Linked DNA regions of Homo sapiens: region 1 is linked to region 2. The links are contacts of gene promoters, found by promoter capture Hi-C in human tissues and cell types (Jung and others, 2019). All regions are on one chromosome and are shown on one strand. Each heading gives the region's core, a stretch centred on a gene start or on the middle of the fragment in contact. The rest is flanking DNA. Distances are from core to core; before and after follow the strand shown.

The links. Contacts are between HindIII fragments. The study calls those that stand out against the background at their distance.
Region 1: a contact is called between a fragment that was not itself captured here and the fragment with the promoter of CTRC in region 2, in 1 of the 25 tissues and cell types used here (ovary).

What each region holds. Positions count from the first base shown.
Region 1 is chr1:15,487,805-15,491,803 of GRCh38, reverse strand. It overlaps CELA2B (chymotrypsin like elastase 2B), which reads right to left. Exons shown (of 8, transcript NM_015849.3): 8 at 409-509. The coding sequence ends at 492. It overlaps CASP9 (caspase 9), which reads left to right. Exons shown (of 9, transcript NM_001229.5): 9 at 1-403. Among named protein-coding and RNA genes, the nearest start is that of CELA2B, 14 kb to the right of the region's middle. The HindIII fragment of the contact is 4,003 bases long and covers 259-3,999 here.
Region 2 is chr1:15,435,689-15,439,798 of GRCh38, reverse strand. It overlaps CTRC (chymotrypsin C), which reads right to left and starts at 1,356. Exons shown (of 8, transcript NM_007272.3): 1 at 1,295-1,356. The coding sequence starts at 1,334. The HindIII fragment of the contact is 5,601 bases long and covers 1-3,919 here.

The DNA.
Region 1 (3,999 bases), core at 1,011-3,510, 51 kb before region 2:
TGTCCTTATGCCAGCCTATTTCTTGTTTTTTGGGCCTTTTTTTTTGGAGATAGGGTCTCACTCTGTCGCCCAGGCTGGAGTGCAATGACGCAATCTTGGCTTATTGCAGTCTCGACCTCCTGGGCTCAAGAGATCCTTCCACCTCAGCCACCTGAGTAGCTTGGACTACAGGTGTGCACCACCTCTCCCAGTTAATTTTTGTATTTTTAGTAGAGACAGAGTTATGCCATGTTACTCAGGCTGGTCTTGAACTCCTGGACTCAAGCGATCAGCCTGCCTTAGCCTCCCAAAGTGCAGGGGTTACAGGCTTGAGCCATTGCGCCTGACCTATTTCTGGTTCTTAGGGCCCTGGATGTTAGGATGGATTTCTGAATTAATAATAATAATAAAACCCTCATCAAGATGTGATTTGCATAGTTGTCACTTTATATAATATTATTTTCCTTCTGTGACCTTTCCAAGTCTGAAACAGTCCCAGGGACTTCTTTTGGTTAGTTATTTGCAATCACCTGCAGGACACACACACAAGAAAATTGTCAGGTTCACGTAACCACAGAGCTGTGCGTGGCAGTTTCCTGTCTCTGTCCTCCTGGGCTAAGCTACTCAAGTGAGTCACAGGCAGCCCACACTACAGTAGCTCCTGCCTGAGGAGTTCAGATGATGTTTCGGAGAAAAAGATGCAATCACAGCTTTTCATTGACCTGTTAGGGTCTTCCTGTAAAGGGGGTCTTAGCCAGGAGTCCTGTGTGGGCTTCAGGTCAGGGGGCCTTCGAACCCCCTAAAAATTATATGCCAAATGTGCGGATGGCATATTTTTAGATTTCATTTGTTTCTCATCAAAACTGCTGTTTGCAAGGCAGTTATGCACTGTGGTTGGGGCTATAACTGTTTCCAGAGGCTGTTGATCAGTATCTGTTAAACTTTTTTTTTTTTTTTTTGAGACAGTCTTGCTCTGTTGCCCAGACGAGTACAGTGGCATATTCTAGGCTCACTGCAACCTCTGCCTCCCAGGTTCAAGCGATTCTCCTGCCTTAGCCTCCCGAGTAGCTGATATTACAGGTGTGCACCACCATGCCTGGCTGATTTTTTTGCATTTTTAGTAGAGACAGGGTTTCACCATGTTGGCCAGGCTGGTCTCGAACTGCTGACCTCAAGTGATCTACCCGTCTCGGCTTCCCAAAGTGCTCGGATTACAGGCGTGAGCCACCGCGCCCAGCCTGTTAAACATTTTGATATGCCAACTTCATGATCCAGTGCTGTAAACGGCAGGATATCCAGCTGCTACAGCACAAATACTCAAGTGTGCAAGAATTATGTCCAAGGATGTTCATTGCACAATGTAAGAGTGAAAAATAGGAAACATGAAAGCTGCATTCATTACACTCAAACTATGGAATACTATTTAGCTGTTCAAAAGAATGACATGTATGTACTGACATGTAAAATGTGATAAGGTGTTAAGTGAAAAATAGCTGCAGAACAGTATGAAGACTCAGATCCTAGTTTTTGCTTAGAAGACAGTGTCTATGTGTGTGTGTGTGTATATAGATAGATAGATAGATAGATAGATAGATAGATAGATATGCACATAAAGTTGAGAAGACCACACACCAAGCTTTTAACAATGATTGGCAGGGCGAAGTGGCTCACGCTTGTAATCCCAGCACATTGGGAGGCTGAGGTGGGCAGATCACCTGAGGTCAGGAGTTTGAGACCAGCCTGGCCAACATGGTGAAACCCCATCTCTACTAAAAATACAAAAATTAGTTGGGCATGGTGGTGCATGCCTGTAATCCCAGCTAGTTAGGAGGCTGAGGCAGGAGAATTGCTTGAACCCGGGAGGCGCAGGTTGCAGTGAGCTGAGATCAAGCCACTGTACTCCAGCCTGTGCAACAGAGCGAGACTCCATTTGAAAAAAAACAAAACAAAAACAATGATTACCTCTGGAGAGTGGAATTGGAGATGTAAAATGAGGGGGGACTTCTACTTTTTTACTTGATACTCTCCTGTATTCTTTTAATATTTTTACAAAGAGTATGTATTACCTTCTGGAAAAAGAATAAAAACTAAGGATTGCTGGAGTTCATGTGTGACTGTCATTCAACTGACATTTGTTGAAAGGATGAATGCCGCAGGCCACTTGTCTCCTCTGCTTCTCTGCTCTTATCTTTTGCTTGTACTTCCTGACCTTGGCTTGTCACCTGTCTGGGTTTATCCAGGCAGGTGCTCTCAGTCACCCCCAGGGCTCTAGTGGTACGTGACTCCAGGCTGCACACACTGTGTCCCTGGGTTGGGGCCACTTCAAGGTTTCACTAGCCCCTCTGCCGCTGCCAGGGGCAGCCCCCACCCAAGGACAGCTGGTTGCTTGGCTCTCCCCCTTCTGAAACCCGTTACCGGGCATCTGTGCCTGTCCCGACTGCTCTCCCATGAACACAGGGCCTCTGCCCAGCTGCCTCGGGAGGCGTGCTGCCCCGTGGATCCCTGCTGCCATCTGGCCATGCTTTGGGATCTGGCCTGTTCTGTTGTGCTTGTGTCTGTGGCTGGGAACAGCTGATGCTGGGAACAGCTGATGCTGGGACAACAGATCGGGACAATTGCCCCTGCCCCTGCTTCAGGTCCCCAGGATGCTGCCAGGACCAGCTGCACGGTGACTCCCACAGCAGCTGGGGCTGGAAAACGGTCTTAGGATTTGGCTGGGAAAGGCCCCTAAGCAGCCTTTCGTCCAGTCAGTCTCAGGCCAGGCTCCTTTGACGTGCGTGGTGCCTCCAAAGGTGGACTCAGATGGGTTTTTCCCAATTTAGATATAAAAAGCCCCAATTAATGATTAATGGCTACTGTCTTTTTGATTTTCCATTTTTTTCCAACAAACTTTTTTGGAATTTCTGCCTATGACCACTTGTTGGCAAAAGGATGCCAGCAGACAGACAAATGAACAAGGAGCTGGCAAGAATCAATGGGAACACTTGGAAGCAGCCACCTGCTTATTTTGACAGTTTAGTTTTCTCCCCTGACCACGTGCTTATGGCTGCAGTTTCATATTTGGTTTTATAAGTGTCAGTTTAATTCAATTTAACACTTCTCTGCAAATTAAACTTAGTGAAGTCAGATGTCAGCTTTCCCCTTCTTTGGGGGCTCTGCCACGAATACCATAACTCCCTCTTGCTCTAGTGCCTAAAAATGTGGAGGTCTAGTTCAAGTCCCACTTTACAGAAGAGCAAACAGGTGGTCCCTAATTGGCACAAAGTATCCGCCTCTTCTCCCCCAGCTTCTATTACCAGGCATGGTGTCTCCTCTGCCCTCTCCTGGGCTCCCCTTTCTTGTGACGGGGTTTCCTCTTCTGGCTGCTTTCATCTACTTCTGTGTGTATCCATGGCTGCTCCTTAATATTTATGCCAACTATTATTATCATTATTTTCAGAGACAGGGTCTTGCTATGTCGCTCAGGCTGCAGTGCAGTGGTGCGACCTTGGCTTACTGTAGGCTCCACCTCTTGGGCCAAAGCGATCCTTCCACCTCAGCCTCCCAAGCAGCTGAGACTACAGGCATGCACCACCATGGCTAATTAAAAAAAAAAATCTTTGTAAAGACAGAGTCTCGCTATGTTGCCCAGGCTGCTCTTGAACTCCTGGGCTCAAGCAATCCTCCTTCCTTGGCCTCCCAAAGTGCTGCGATTACAGGCATGAGCCATGGCACCTGGCCTATTATTTTTAATAAATATTTTTAATGCTTATTGTTATAAAAAATGTGTGTTCATTGTTAAAAAGAATTTGAGCTAGTGTGGAAGCTCACAGGAGACAGCTCTCTGAGTTTACATTTACAAGACGGGGACCAACTCAGCTTTATTTGCCTGGGATGGTCCCAGTGTAAAACAGGAAGTCCCGCATCCTGGAAAACCTCTCAGTCCTGGGCAAACTGGGATGGTTGGTCACCCTACAGAATAGCTGGAGGACCCTTGAGGGGGACTAATTTCCAATAATTAATGCTATGGGGGTCTCAAAG
Region 2 (4,110 bases), core at 107-2,606:
TTGCACTCCATCCTGGGTGATAAGAGCAAAACTCCATCTCAAAAAACAAAACAAAACAAAACAAAACTGGCTGGCATGTGTGCGAGTGCCCGGTACACCTGTGTTCTTCTGTCTGTTTTTAGGCCCCTGCATCATGGTGTGTGTGTGAGAGAGCAGTAAATCCACTGTTATAGCTGGGAAGCTGTGTGGAGCGGTCAAGAACACGTGCTGTTCCGCGAGACAGACGTGGACTCAAATTCTGCCTCTTCCACTAACCTGCCATGTGATGTCAGGCAAGATACTAAGTCGCACGGAACCTCGATGTCCTCATCTGTAAAATGGGGCTATGAAAAGACCCTACCTCTTTTTCTTTCTTTTTCTTTTTTTTTTTTTTTTGAGACGGAGTTTCACTCTTGTTGCCCAGGCTGGAGTTTGATGGCGCGATCTCGGCTCACTGCAACCTCCTCCTGGGTTCAAGCAATTCTCCTGCCTCAGCCTTCTGAGTAGTTGGGATTACAGGTGCCCGCCACCACGCCTGGCTAATTTTTGTATTTTTAGTAGAAACGGGGTTTCATCTTGTTGGCCAGACTGGTCTCAAACTCCTGATCTCAAGTGATCCACCCACCTCGGCCTCCCAAAGTGCTGGGATTACAGGCGTGAGCCACCATGCCTGGCAATAGACCCTACCTCTTAAGGTTGTTTTGAGGATTAAATTGGCTCCTACATGTAAGGGGCCTAGCATAGCGTCTGGCACATAGTAAACACACAGGAAACAGGAGCTGCTATTATTACTGTTGTTGTTGTTAGCTGGAAGGACTCTTCATTAAGTGCTCTCCTTTGCCAAAAAAGTTAGTGAGATTTAGAGAGGTGAAATGACTTTTCCAGGTCCTGCAGAGAAGAAGTGGCATTTAAGCTAAGTCCCTGGGCTCCTAATCTGGGAAAACGCCACCAAAATGATGGAATGGAGAATCCTCAAGGGAGAGAGAATGCTGGGAAAGGCAGACCCCGATGGTCCCTGGGGTGAACCCAGGATGAGGCATCTCGTGTCCCTCCCCCTTGCGTGGTGCTTTCCACACCTCATTTCTAACTGGGGACACGTCAGATCATCTTCCCTGTTTTGCAGATGTGGAAACAGAGTTGGCAGGCAGGCTGTGGCTTGTCTGACACACAGCTGGTTGGTAGCATCTGAACCCACAGGGGACCCCAAAGTGTCTTACCTGGAGAGCAGAGGCCCCCCCACTCCCCATCCCGTCCTTGCCCTGGAGGCCAGCCCGAGCTCACAGCCTGCTAGCTGCAGCCCCACCCCACCGCTTACCACAGGCCAAGAGCGCAGCGAGGACAGTGATGCCCAACATGGTTAGGTGCTCAGGACTGGCTGACCATCGGGATGGGCTGGGGCACACTTATAGGCAGGAGCAGGTGAGTGCACCTGGTCAAGGCCAAACCGCCCCTTGGAGAGAAACCTGCTCTGATAAGGCCCTTTCCCTGACCTTGGGTGGTTACTGTTTAATTTGGGCAGGAGACAGGGCTTTCTTAGAAGTATGGATTTTCCAAATATCCTGAAACAGAAAATTCTGAGTTGCAGTGCTTTTTGGCATCCCCCACCCCACTCTGTTTGACGTGTGTGTTCATTCTCTCTCCCTACCTTATACTATTTATTTATTTATTTGGAGATGGAGTCTTGCTCTGTTGCCCAGGCTGAAATGCAGTGGCACAGTCTCAGCTCACTGCAACCTCCACCTCCCGGGCTCAAACGATTCTCGTGCCTTAGCCCCCTGTGTAGCTGGGACTACAGGCGCCTGCCACCACGCCAGGTTAATCTTTTGTATTTTATTTATTTTTTTGAGACAGGATCTTGCTCTGTCACCCAGGCTGGAGTCTCAGCTCACTACAACCTCCGCCTCCCGAGTTCAAGCGATTCTCCTGTCTCAGCCTCCCAAGTAGCTGGGACTACAGATGTGTGCCACCATTTTTTTTTTTTTTTTTTTTTTGTATTTTAGTAGAGACAGGGTTTCACCCTGTTGCCTAGGGTGGTCTTGAACTCCTGAGCTTAGGCAATCTGCCTACCTCAGCCTCCCAAAGTGCTAGGATTACAGGTGTGATTACAGGCCGTTACCTTATTCTTTTTAGTTATTTATTGGGCACCTACTGTGTGTCAGGCATTGCGCTCAATTCTTCTTGCATTATCTCACTTAATTCTTCCAACAACATGAAATAGACGCGGTTATCTGCTCTGAGGTGAGATGAGAAAGGACCAGGCGCAGTGGTGCATGCCTGTAGTCCCAGCTACTCCTGAGGCCAAGGTAGGAGGATCGCTTGAGCCCAGGAGTTCGAGGCTGCAGTGAGCCGTGATCGTGCCACACTGCATTCCAGCGCGGGTGACAGAACAAGACCTTGTCTCTAAAAAAATAAAATAAAAGTGAGGAAGCTGAGACTCAGCGGGTAAGTGACCATCTAGGGTCACACGGCTGGGCAGCAGCAGAGCCAGACTTTGAAGCCAAAGCTTCTAACACCAGCCTGGGGCTTCAAGCTGTGGAGACATGCTGCTCCTTCTCTGCCTTTCTAGTGCTATTGGATCGCTTCCTGGCTCTCTCTCTGTCTCATCTTTCTAATTGCCTGGGCTTGATGCACTCCTGCACCTGCCTCCAGGGCTGTGGTTGGAGGCAGGGATGCAGCAGGCTCTGGAAGGTGCTTAGTTGGCCAGATTCCTTCCTGGAGTCAGCTTAGTTGTAGGTCCTCAGTTTCCCCATCTCTAAAATGGGCAAAAGGACCAGATGGACTTTCAGGCTCCTTTCAGTTCTACAATTCTGTAACTTGAATGTCAAGGTCAGTGGCAGATCTGAGGGCCCAAAGCACTGAGTAGCAGAAATTCTACCAGAGCCTCCGGCATTCGGGGTTGGCCATCCCTTGGAACATGTGGTTTGATCCATTCGCCCCAAGGCCTGGCCTCAGCCTGGTTGGTTAGATTCTGTCTTTCGTTTCCCCTCTACTCATACTGAGCTCCCCTTGAAGGTCATTTTCTGAGCTGGGCCTACTGGCCACCTTAGGAATTCCTTCCTGATAGAAAAGTTCAGAGCACTACGCACCCCGCCATTCATAGCGGTGATCTGGGGGTGAAGGAGGATTCTAACTTACACTTTTTTTTTTTGAGAGTCTTGCTCTGTGGCCCAGGCTGGAGTGCAGTGGTGCGATCTCAGCTCACTGCAACCTCCACCCCTGGGTTCAAGCAATTCTGCTTCCTCAGCCTCGCGAGTAGCTGGGATTATAGATGTCCACCACCATGCCCGGCTAATTTTTGTATTTTTAGTGGAGACCGGATTTCACCATGTTGGCCAGGCTGGTTTGTTTATTTATTTATTTATTTTTTGAGATGGAGTTGGAGTCTCGCTCTGTCGCCCAGGCTGGAGTGCAGTGGTGCGATCTTGGCTCACTGCAACCTCTGCCTCCCAGGTTCAAGCAATTCTCCTACCTTACTTAGTCTCCTGAGTAGCCGGGACCAGTGCCACTGGCTAATTTTTGTTCCTTTTGTAGAGACGGGGTTTCACCACGTTGGCCAGGCTGGTCTCGAACTCCTGACCTCAAGTGATCCACTCACATAGGCCTCCCAAAGTGCTAGGATTACAGGTGTGAGCCACCATGCCTGGCCTCTAACTACACATTTTTATGCAGCTTAAATTCTTTTTTAAAACAAACATAGTTACCTTGGTAGTATAAAAATCAATAGGTTTAATTTTTTAAGAAAGATAAAAGTGGGAATGTGCACTGGGGGCTCTGCTCAGCTATGGTGACATCAAGGCCTCAGTCCTGGGGTGTCTGGGGACTTCAGCCTGCGGGGAATTTTCTGTTTCATTTTGGAGGTTGGTTGTGCATGATACAGGTTTATCAGTGGCTACTGGCCAGTCTGCTTCAGACCCAGGGCTTTTGGTTGCCAAGCCTTGCAAAGGGTCATTCTAGCCTGGAAACTGGGAACATAAGCAGAGATATGGCTTGAGCTAGGTGATAGGTCTTGGAAATTAGCAGGGTCTGAAGCGGGGAGACAGGACACCTGGTTTCCATCTCAGTGACAGAATGGATGACCCAGACCCTGAGCAACCTCTTTGAGCCTCAGTTTCTCTCATGTCCCTTGATCAA